Regions from separate parts of the Homo sapiens genome. Here region 1 is linked to region 2. Evidence: promoter capture Hi-C in 16 types of primary human blood cells and fetal thymus (Javierre and others, 2016). All regions are on one chromosome and are shown on one strand. The core of a region is centred on a gene start or on the middle of the fragment in contact, and the rest is flanking DNA. Distances in the headings are between cores, read along the strand shown.

Region 1 (4,866 bases), core at 1,748-4,247, 2.0 Mb before region 2:
ACCTTCTGGGATTGGAGGCGTTTTCTTGCCCCCCTTTATCCACTGGCGGGGGCGGGGAATAAAGAGGGGTTTGGTGTGAGGAGGATTCTCTAGCAGCTTATCGTCTCCAGGGCTTGGGGTGTGGGTTAGGAGCAAAGGGAGTATGTAAGCATCCCCACAGACAAACCCCTTCCCTGTCTTTCCCTACTTCCCCTTACCCCCTTTGGATTATCCTGAGCCATGGAAATGCCCCATGCCTGCTGATTAGAGGATGATAAAGCTTCGGGAGCCCTGGCCCAGGGCGAAACCTGTTTCCCTGGGCTTTGCACGGACCCGCTGTTACCTTACGTTCAGTTTTGCAGTGCTTCAGGGTTGCGATCCTTGACGTTTATTCTGGGCCTCGGGCATAAGGGGTAAATGATTTTTTTAAAAGCTACCTATATATCGTCTGTAGAGATGAGAGATAAGGAATAAAGAAGAGACGAAAAGAGTGATGGAGGAAGAGGATTTACTGAAATGTTGTAGTGTTAGAGTTAGAGTGAAGTCTAAATAATTCACATACCCGAATGGAAAATCGGCCCCTAAATTTACAACGTACAAATAAGATGTGGAGCTTTTGGCTGATGCAGTCATTTTGATATTTTAAAGTGATCTTAACATCTATAGTCATTCATAGTTTGTGATTCTATTTTGAATCCATCACATTATATTAAGGCTAAATTAGGTAGATTTTTAAAAACTTTTTTTTTTTTAAAGAAAACCAAAGAAGACTTCCAAATTCCAAACGTCAACATCATATGTGTGCATGTGTTTTAAAATGTTTTTGTTATTTTTACATTGTCAAAATCCACGTAATCCAGGTAACTTTTTATTCTCACGTGTTCAGGAAGAAATTCCCTTACTGTTTTATTTAGAAGTTAAAAACCACTTGTCTTGTCTATTGGAATGACAGGTGAGTAATTGCATTTCAGCATTTCCCCCATATGCATTCTTTCTATCCGAGTCTGCCATTAGTCTTGCATGAAGCCTCAGTGCCATGGAAATGATGGCATCTGTTTAATTTGGTGAATGAAATTAAGCTTAACGCTTGTTACTTTCAGGAAATAGCCTTCATTTTAATAACTCGAGAGGGTTAAACAATTCAAAAGTGCTATTCAGTTCCGTAAGTTTGATGGAATGAAAATTGGTATTTGATGATGAACTTCAAGGTCTAAACCTCAAGGGAACTCAACTTGGTTGTTTCAGTAGGCTGTGAATTTATGTTTTCAGTTCAACTTTGGTGCTTGATTTTCTCATAGTTTTTATTAAGCGTTAATAACGTAAGGTGGCTTCATTCAAAAAGAAGACTTATTTGAAATATTTTAATTATGCCTTTTATGTGTTTTGTTTAAAGTAATCTAGCCTGTCCTCATTTGCAGTGTGGTATAGTTTATCATAGCTAACATAGCACATCCCATTAAAAGTTATGCCTAGATAGTTTCAGTAGTAGTAAATTTCACCTTGCTGTGATACATTGGTATAGATTCTTGAAGTACACTAAGGGTTTTTCAACTCCAGAACCCATTCATAATATTAAGTATCTTGGGAAAATGTATCAATGGAAGTTTTCCAGTTACAGAATAGCTCCAAAAATTACTTGAAGATGTGAAGAGCTTTGCAGTTAGAAAATGGGCAGGCAGCATAGATTTCTTTAAGCCTAGATGAGTATCTTTAATGCTTATAATGGAGTGGCACAATACATTAGAGTTCTCATATTGTTTCCGTGATACTTAAATTATTTTCACTAAATTTTCATGTTTTCCTGTTAACATATGACTTTTCTTTTCTTTGTTTGTTTCTTTTTTTTTTTTTTGAGAAGGAGTTTTCCTCTTGCTGCCCAGGCTGGAGTGCAATGGCATGATCTTGGCTCACCACAACTCCGCCTCCCGGGTTCAAGTGATTCTCCTGCCTCAGCCTCCCGAGTAGCTGGGATTACAGGCATGCGCCACCATGCCTGGCTAATTTTTGTATTTTTTTTTTTTTATTAGAGATGGGGTTTCTCCATGTTGGTCAGGCTGGTCTCGAACTCCCAACCTGAAGTTATCTGCCCGCCTTGGGATTACGGGTGTGTGCCACTGTGCCTGGCTTTTTTTTTTTTTTTTTTTGAGATGGACTCTTGCTCTGTTGCCCAGGCTGGAGTGCAGTGGTGCCATCTTGGCTCACCGCAACCTCCGCCTCCCAGGTTCAAGCGGTTCTCCCTTCTCAGCCTCTTGAGTAGCTGAGATTACAGGTGCATGCCACTGCGCCTGGCTAATTTTTGTATTTTTAGTAGACACAGGGTTTCACCATGTTGGCCAGGCTAGTCTCGAACTCCTGACCTCAAGTGATCCACCCACCTCGGCCTCCCAAAGTGCTGGGATTACAGGTGTGAGCCACCGGGCCCAGCCCTTTTTTTTTTTTTTTTTAAAGGACGGAATCTCACTCTGTCACTCAGGCTGGATGGAGTGCAATGGCGGGATCCTGGCCCACTGCAACCTCCACCTCCCAGGTTCAAGCGATTCTTTCACCTCAGCCTCCCGGGTAGCTGAGATTACAAGCACCTGCCATCATGCCCGGCTAATTTTTGTAATTTTGTAGAGACTGAATTTCACCATGTTGTCCAGGTTGGTCTTGAACTCCTGACCTCAAGTGATCCACCCATCTCAGCCTCCCAAAGTGCTGGGATTACAGGCGTGAGCCATTGCACCTGGCCAAGATAAGACTTTTCTTAACTGATTTTATTTTCTTTAGCACATATTCCCATTTTCATGAATATTGTATATGGGAATTTTAGAATTTGTATAACTCACATGTATGCTTCCACCTTGGGAATGTATGGGTTTATGATACTTCTTTCTCTTCAGTAGGGATATGTCCTCAGCACCAACTACTCCTCCATCAGTGGATAAAGTAGACGGATTTTCTCGGAAGTCCGTCAGAAAAGCCAGACAGAAGAGGTCGCAAAGTTCCTCACAGTTTAGGTCTCAAGGCAAGCCTATTGAGTTAACACCTCTGCCGCTGCTAAAAGGTAAGGCTCATGACCAGGTGATGCATTCTTTTTCAATTGATCTTTCTACATCTATATATAATTTCCTTTTTGTAGAGTTTTATATGTGTTGCAAATTGAAGGGATGGGATACTTCACATACATTGAAGTTACTAATGTGTGACCAAATATACCCACTCTCCTTTTTAAAGGCTCAATTTAGTCTGTCTTTGGGCAAGTTAAAAGAAACATTATCAGGAGAATATCTCACATTGATGAGTAGGTAAACTAAGTACTAGAGAAACTTTAAGATGTCTGGGTTTGTGTTTTTCATTTTTTCTTCTGTTGACGTTTAGGGATACATTATATACAATGACAACTACAGATTATGGTCTTAGGAAGTAGACCCTAGTAGAGGAGATGGTACCATTCATTAATTTACATATAGAAAATGGTATTTGGAAGAATTCGTTTTTAAAAATCAAGAAAAAAATGGTCCATTTATAGTTGTTTACATGCACTCTTGTTTTCACATAGTACAAGTAGAAAAGATATACCTTTCTATGTACAAGTATGATGATCATACTTGTTTAGTATGATCTTTTCTTTGAAATTTGTTAATTTTTTAATTTTAATTTTTATCTTTTGAGATAGAGTCTCCCTCTGTTGCTCAGGCTGGTTCACAGCAACCTCCACCTCCTGGGTTCAAGTGATTTTCCTGCCTCAGCTTCCCGAGTAGCTGGGAGCACAGGTGCCCGCCACCATGCCCAGCTAATTTTTGTATTTTTAATAGAGACAGGGTTTCACCATGTTGGTCAGGCTGGTCTTGAACTCCTGACCCCAAGTGATCTGCCCACCTTGACCTCCCAAAGTGCTGGGATTACAGGTGTGAGCCACCGTGCCTGGCCTGAAATTTGTTAAAAACAAGTTTTTTGGTTTTTTAAATTTTCTTTTGAGACAATCTCATGCTGTCACTCTGGCTAGAGTTCAGTGGGGACAGAGTGAAAGTGCAGGTTGAGGCCGGGCGTGGTGGCTCACGCCTGTAATCCCAGCACTTTGGGAGCCCGAGGCAGGCAGATCACGAGGTCAGGAGTTTGAGACCAGCCTGGCCAACATGGTGAAACCCTGTCTCTTCTAAAAATACAAAAATTAGGCGCGGTGGTGGCACCTGTAATCCCAGCTACTCGGGAAGCCGAGGCAGGAGAATTGCTTGAACCGGGAGGCAGAGGTTGAAGTGAGCCCAGATCGTGCCATTGCATTCTAGCCTGGGTGACAGAGCAAGACTCTGTCTCGGGGGAAAAAAAAAAAAGAAAGTGCAGGTTGGGGCTCACTGTGGCCTCTATTTCCTAGGCTCAAGTGATCCTCCCTTTCCCGAGTAGCCGGGATCAACTTCCCGAGTAGCTGGGACTACAGAAGCATGCCATCACGCCCAGCTAATTTTTCCATTTTTTTGTAGAGATGGAGTTTTGCCATGTTGCACAGGCTGGTCTCGAATTGCCATGGTGTTCCCATGCCAGGATTTAGGCGTGAGCCACCATGCCCGGCCCAACACGTTTTTAATATGAAGAATTTTTTCTAAATTAGGCATTTCAACTTTTGTTTGGGTATGTGGTTACTTTTTGTCCCTTTTAATTTTCATCATGTTTGCTTCATGTTTATGAACAGGTGTTGTTTGAAAAATATCAGAACATAGCTTTTATAGTGTGGAAACTATCAGAATTTACCTTTGAGGTGGATGTTTATGTGCTGAATACTGAAGAATGGGAGAAAGGGGATATGAACAACACAATGAGCTTTAGTGTGGCTTGGAGGAAACCAGGCAACCTGGTTTGCTAGTTCATTATTGCAGACTTATTTCTGTAACAGTTTGTGAAATCAGAAGG
Region 2 (5,270 bases), core at 665-3,164:
GTGGGCAGCAGACATCTTATGAATGGGGCTACTTTCAGAAACAGCTGTGCCATTTTTCTGAGTGACCTGACCAGCTGGCCAGGATTCCTGCTCTCTGACGAGACCACAGAGAGGAGAGAGAGTCGTTATTTTTGAAGATCTGTGTGAAGAAGCAGCAAAGGTGACATACTGAAAAGGTCTGTGTCCTGGCTCTAGAAAAAACAAAGTTGGCCACTTTTCTTTATGCAGCGAAGATATCATAGCTCTAGATGAAAGGCTTTTCTTCAAGATGTTCCCCCCACCACTGCTGTTTCGAAGTAGGTTCAATGACTGAGATTCCATTGCTCCATAGACCAAAAACTAAAACGAGCGCTGCCACACAGCTAAGCGATGTGTGCATAGAGATTCTCTGTATTTCCATCAGTTGGGAAACTTCCTTAGTGCTGGGCTCCTATCAAAATATGCTGGGCTAAATCTGCTTTCACAAAATAGCCAGGAAAGGTGTTTTGATCACTTCCTGAGCAAGGATTAGTACAGGATAATTCACTTTTCATGGCCGGAGTGTGGTTCTCAATTTCAAAGACACTGAAGCTAATTTAATTTCCCATATTGAAAGAAAATTGCCTTGGATAAAAAGTTTTGTTTTTGTTTTTATTTAAATCAGGTTATCTTTAAATAGACTCATGACAGTCCCCAAGCACCTCTTTCCAAATCTGATTTGTGAACAACACAAAAGTAATGCTGTGTTTATAAAAATTGTTTTGGAGCTGAATTTACAGAGAAAATCTTGTTGAAGGTGCAGACACGGAAAGACAGTGTTTGGAGGTACCTCCCACTGCCATGCCAGGTGTCCAGAGGTGTCAAGCTGCCAGTGTTGATTCAAATGAAAATGATAATGTTGAAGAAGGAGGCTGCAAAAGTTCCTAAGCAACCTGACGGGATATACCTTGTAAAATGCTTTCAAAAAAGCTTCAAAGGGCAGCTAATAAATGAATATACTGACAGGGTTTAATCGCTTCTCCTCTCTCCTAGTAACAGGAATTAAAGGCCACAGGTGGTTCTGGGTTGGAGGCAGGACCCAAAAGTAAATGCAGCATTCAGAGCTGCACAGGCCCAGTCAGAGCAGCTGCCACTTCAGGCACTTACAGTGGTCACCCAGGATTCAGGAGATGCATATTATAAGTAACTCAGTTCTGTAAGAGCTAGGAGTTAGTTCACACTGCTTGGGCTCTCACTAAGTAAGCCTGTGCAATGCAGGCAGGAAGGGAGAAAATGCTTACAAAAAAGAAATGAGTAGATTCTTGCCTTAGGAAAGTCAACGGGATACAATTCCTGATGGAAGAGCAGTTGCTATTCTAAGAGCTAATTAACAAGAAACAATGCTGCAAAAAACTTGGGAGACAGGACGGCAGAACACACCCAGATGGCCTGTGGGAAATTCCCAGGCCTGCCAATGATGTGAGAGAGGACATCTTGTGAATGGGTGGGTACAGCCTGTTCTTCTGGGCAAGACAAACAGTGCAGGACTCTATATGCCAGGGTGGCTGAAGCCCCAGTGTCCAAGAGGCTTGCCCATTCCTCCCTGCCCCTGGCACTGAACCCAAGCTTCCATGGGGCACTGTGGAAGAGGCCTTGCCTGACGACAAGTAGACCAAACACGACCGTCCGTCCTCTAAAAACTGCACCCTTGGAATTGGGGACAGGCAGAATAACCCTTTCACTAGCTTGATACTTAGCCTCTTGGGGTTCTGATAAATCCTTTTGAATAACCAAGCAGTTTTGTTTTTAATACCTTGGCCTGAGCCCTTTAGATGCAGCCATCCTCAACTTACAAAAAAAACAAACCAAAAGAAAAAACAAAACACACACACACACAAACAAACTTTGATTCAATTGACAAAGGTTTTCAAGGTGTCTACTACATGTAAGGCAGCACACTAGGGGTTTCTTGGGGATACGCAGATGACAAAGACAGTGTCTCTTCATCCAGGAGCTAATCAAGAGAAGGGGGAAGAATCAAGCAAACTTCATAATACACAGCCGGATGAAATGAAAAGAGACTTAGATCAAGTGCTGTGAGAGCTTGGAAGAGGCACGGGGCAAATAACACTGGGGCTGGTGGTGGGAAGGCAAGTGACAGCCTCGTGGAAGAGGTGGCATTTGACCAGAGATGAGGACGAACAGAATTAACATAGTAGGCATGAAGGAAGAAAATGCGCCTGAGGACACAGCCAGCACAAATGCAGAGGCATACAAGTGCCTGGTACAGCTGGCATGCAGGGATGGCTGAGGAACTGCGGGGGCAGCCGGTGGGATCCATCCGAGGTGAGTGATGAGAGCTGCACGGCAATTTAGGGGATGACACTAGCCACAGCGTGATGAATAAATCTTAAATGCAGAGGTAGCGCCTGGTGGTGAGCAGTTAGAGGCTGAGACAATAGCTGAGAACACATGACAAGTTCAGCAACTAGGAGAGTTTCTAGTTAATTGGAAGGAAGAGTTGGAAGCACATTCTAGAGGGCCGTGGAAGAATAAACACAATCCACTAACTGCCGGGAATGGGAGTGAAGAGTCCAAGATCACAGGGTCCTCCCTGGCTGCCTGATGGGGCAGTGGTGTTGAGTAACAGAAATGGAACAAAAGAGGGGCAAGAGATTATTCTTTGTAGCATGAGTATTAGTAGCAGTGTTAGTAGTAGTAGTATTTTTGTTAGTGGAACAAAGACAAAAATAGCTCACACTTACTGAGATCCTACAGTCTGCCAAATCTGGGAGGCTGATGGGCTCCGCTTTGCATTGGAGGTGTGTGGGCACCCACATGCAGATGAATTCTAGGGTAAATCTGGGGTGCAGGCCAGGGCTGGCCATCTAACGCTCAGAGACATTGAAATTTGAGTAACCACTGAAGCTGGGAGGGCAGGTTAGATTGTGGAAAGTGACAGAGACAGACTAGAACTGATACCAGCCCTAGGTCTCAGACACATTTTATTTGGCCTACCTAGTGTGTTTTGAAATAATTTTAATTACTTCTCAAATATTTAAACGCTAGGAAATGTCACATCACATGAAAAGTCAGGTTTTCCAACTTCTCGTGGAAAATGAGATACTCGGGAACACTGGGCCTGCACTCCTCTCATAGAAACGGCCTGGAGTTGAGCAGGGGCTTCTGCTTTTCATGGGGCACCAGATGCCCAGTCAGTCACATGCCCCACCACTCCCTATCACCTCCCACCTGGCTGGTATCACTCACGGACTTTCATGGCTCCTGACCCCTGGTGTAGGGTGAGAAGCAGCCAGAGTGGCAGCTGGAGGATGCCATGAAGAGGCCAGAGGAGGATGAATACCATGAAACAGAAACCAGGACCGGGAGAAGGAGGGTCCGGGGTGATACTAAGGGGGTAGAAGCTTTGTGTGTTGTGGTGGTGGTGGGGTGGCCCTTCTACCACTACCCCCGTCCAGTGATGTGGAGATGAGGAGTTAAGGGAACATTTAACATTAGTCCCAGGCCTGAAATCTTTCACAGTTCACGTTGGTGCAGATGGTGTGGAGTTGGAGGTGGATAGCTTGCCATCCTAGGCTGGGCACAGGCCTTTCCCTAAACTCTCTGTTCCTACTGCTGTGAATGGTGACAGCATAATCCTTTTGCAGAAAACTTTCATTATTTGCTTATGTCCCTAATGGGACCCAAATGCCAGTAAGTTAACAATTGTGCTCCTCGGGGCCATCACTTTCATCCACATTTAAGGTCACACTGAAAAGTTGCCTCACCTCAGCTGACTTTCTCCCTGACTGTGATCCAAGAGGGAAAGTCGGCCAAAGAGGAAAATAATGTGACTTCATGAAATATTCTGCACACATTTACTAAAGGAAGCAGAATGTTTTCTAGGGCCAAGAAAAGCACTTTATAAGCTGCACAGAGTGAGTGAGGGGACCAGGGTGGAAAATCTGGATTCTACCCCAAGTGTAAGTCTCAAACTGACTGGAGAGCAGGGGAAAGAGAAGGGTCAAGAACTCAGGGACTCATTTTATGTTCCCCTTCCTGCTGTGGCCCTCATTACAGTGGAACTGAACTAGAGGATACTCAAGGAATCAGAGGCACACCTGGCCCCGAGAATGAGACACTTAACAGTTTTTTTCCCAGACTACAGAGGAGGTGTGGCTGCAGGGGAAAGCAAGCAGGCATGCTCCCTCCTGACGCTAGTTCTAAGGGGACATGTAAAGGATTTGGGCCAAGTTTGTATAGGAATGTCCTGGGAGGCCTCCTGCAAGCCAGGGAAGGCTGAAAGAACTAACAGCTTCTCTGACATGGAGGGCTGGTCAGGCTCTGCAGTGTCACTGCTTGTGTTTGTATCATTCTTTCACCACTGAGTTACTGTGTGACTGTGGACAAATTTCTTAACTTCTCTGAGCCTTAGATTTCTCAACTCTAACATGAAGATTTTCCTATATTTTAAAAAGTTATGATGAGTCAATGAGAGAATTAACGTAAAGCGCCTGGCATAAAGAAAGCCCTCAAGAAATGATAGTATTAGTGAACATCTTGTTGCCGTCCTAGGCTCGAATAGACTGTCCCTAAACACTCTGTTCCCACCGCTGTGAACAGTGGCAGCATAATTCTTTTGCAGAATACTTCCATTATTTGCTTATGTCCCTAATGGGACCCAAATGCCAAACTTGTAAGTCCATCCTGTTCTACTAAAAGGCAGGGGCACAGATAGAAAGCTGCTGAGAGACTACACTCTGAGGTCAGCCTTGACCCTGAGGCTCATCTGGCTCTCCCTGTTCCTCTACAGCCAGGTAAGAGAGAACAAGATCTCTTTCTGCCTTCACTGTCCTAGGCTCCAGTAGTGCAGTGGGAGGAATGGTCTTTGGAAAATAATGTTCCTTTTTCTTGCTTTTTTTTAATTTCTGAGATAAGATCTTCCTATGTTGTTCAGGCTGGTCTCAAACTCTTAAGCTCAAGTGATCCTCCTGCCTCAGCCTCCTGAGTAGCTGGGATTATAGGCACATACCACCAAACCCTATTTGGAAAACTTTTTTTTTTTTTTTCCTGACAGAAAACCTTTTCTAAGACAATCTTAAAACGAGAATACAAACAATAGTTTTTTGTTTGTTTTGTTTTTTTTTGATATGGAGTCTCGCTCTTGCTGTCTAGGCTGGAGTGCAATGGTGCACAATTTTGGCTCACTGCAACCTCCCCCTCCCAGGTTCAAGCAATTCTCCTTCCTCAGCCTCCCGAGTAGCTGGGATTACAGGTGTGCACCACCACGCCCGACTAATTTTTGTATTTTT

The links. Contacts are between HindIII fragments. The CHiCAGO score rates a contact against its expected background, and 5 or more counts as called.
Region 1: a fragment that was not itself captured here is called in contact with the fragment with the promoter of PRKCH-AS2 in region 2 in 1 of 17 cell types (neutrophils); the score reaches 5.2 in neutrophils.

What each region holds. Positions count from the first base shown.
Region 1 is chr14:63,537,688-63,542,553 of GRCh38, reverse strand. It overlaps PPP2R5E (protein phosphatase 2 regulatory subunit B'epsilon), which reads left to right. Exons shown (of 14, transcript NM_006246.5): 2 at 2,862-3,025. The coding sequence starts at 2,869. Among named protein-coding and RNA genes, the nearest start is that of PPP2R5E, 3.3 kb to the left of the region's middle. The HindIII fragment of the contact is 3,873 bases long and covers 1,061-4,866 here.
Region 2 is chr14:61,542,128-61,547,397 of GRCh38, reverse strand. PRKCH-AS2 (PRKCH antisense RNA 2) reads left to right here and starts at 1,914. Exons shown (of 3, transcript NR_188139.1): 1 at 1,914-2,304; 2 at 4,681-4,775. The region is part of intron 12 of PRKCH (protein kinase C eta); the gene reads right to left. The HindIII fragment of the contact is 1,799 bases long and covers 1,587-3,385 here.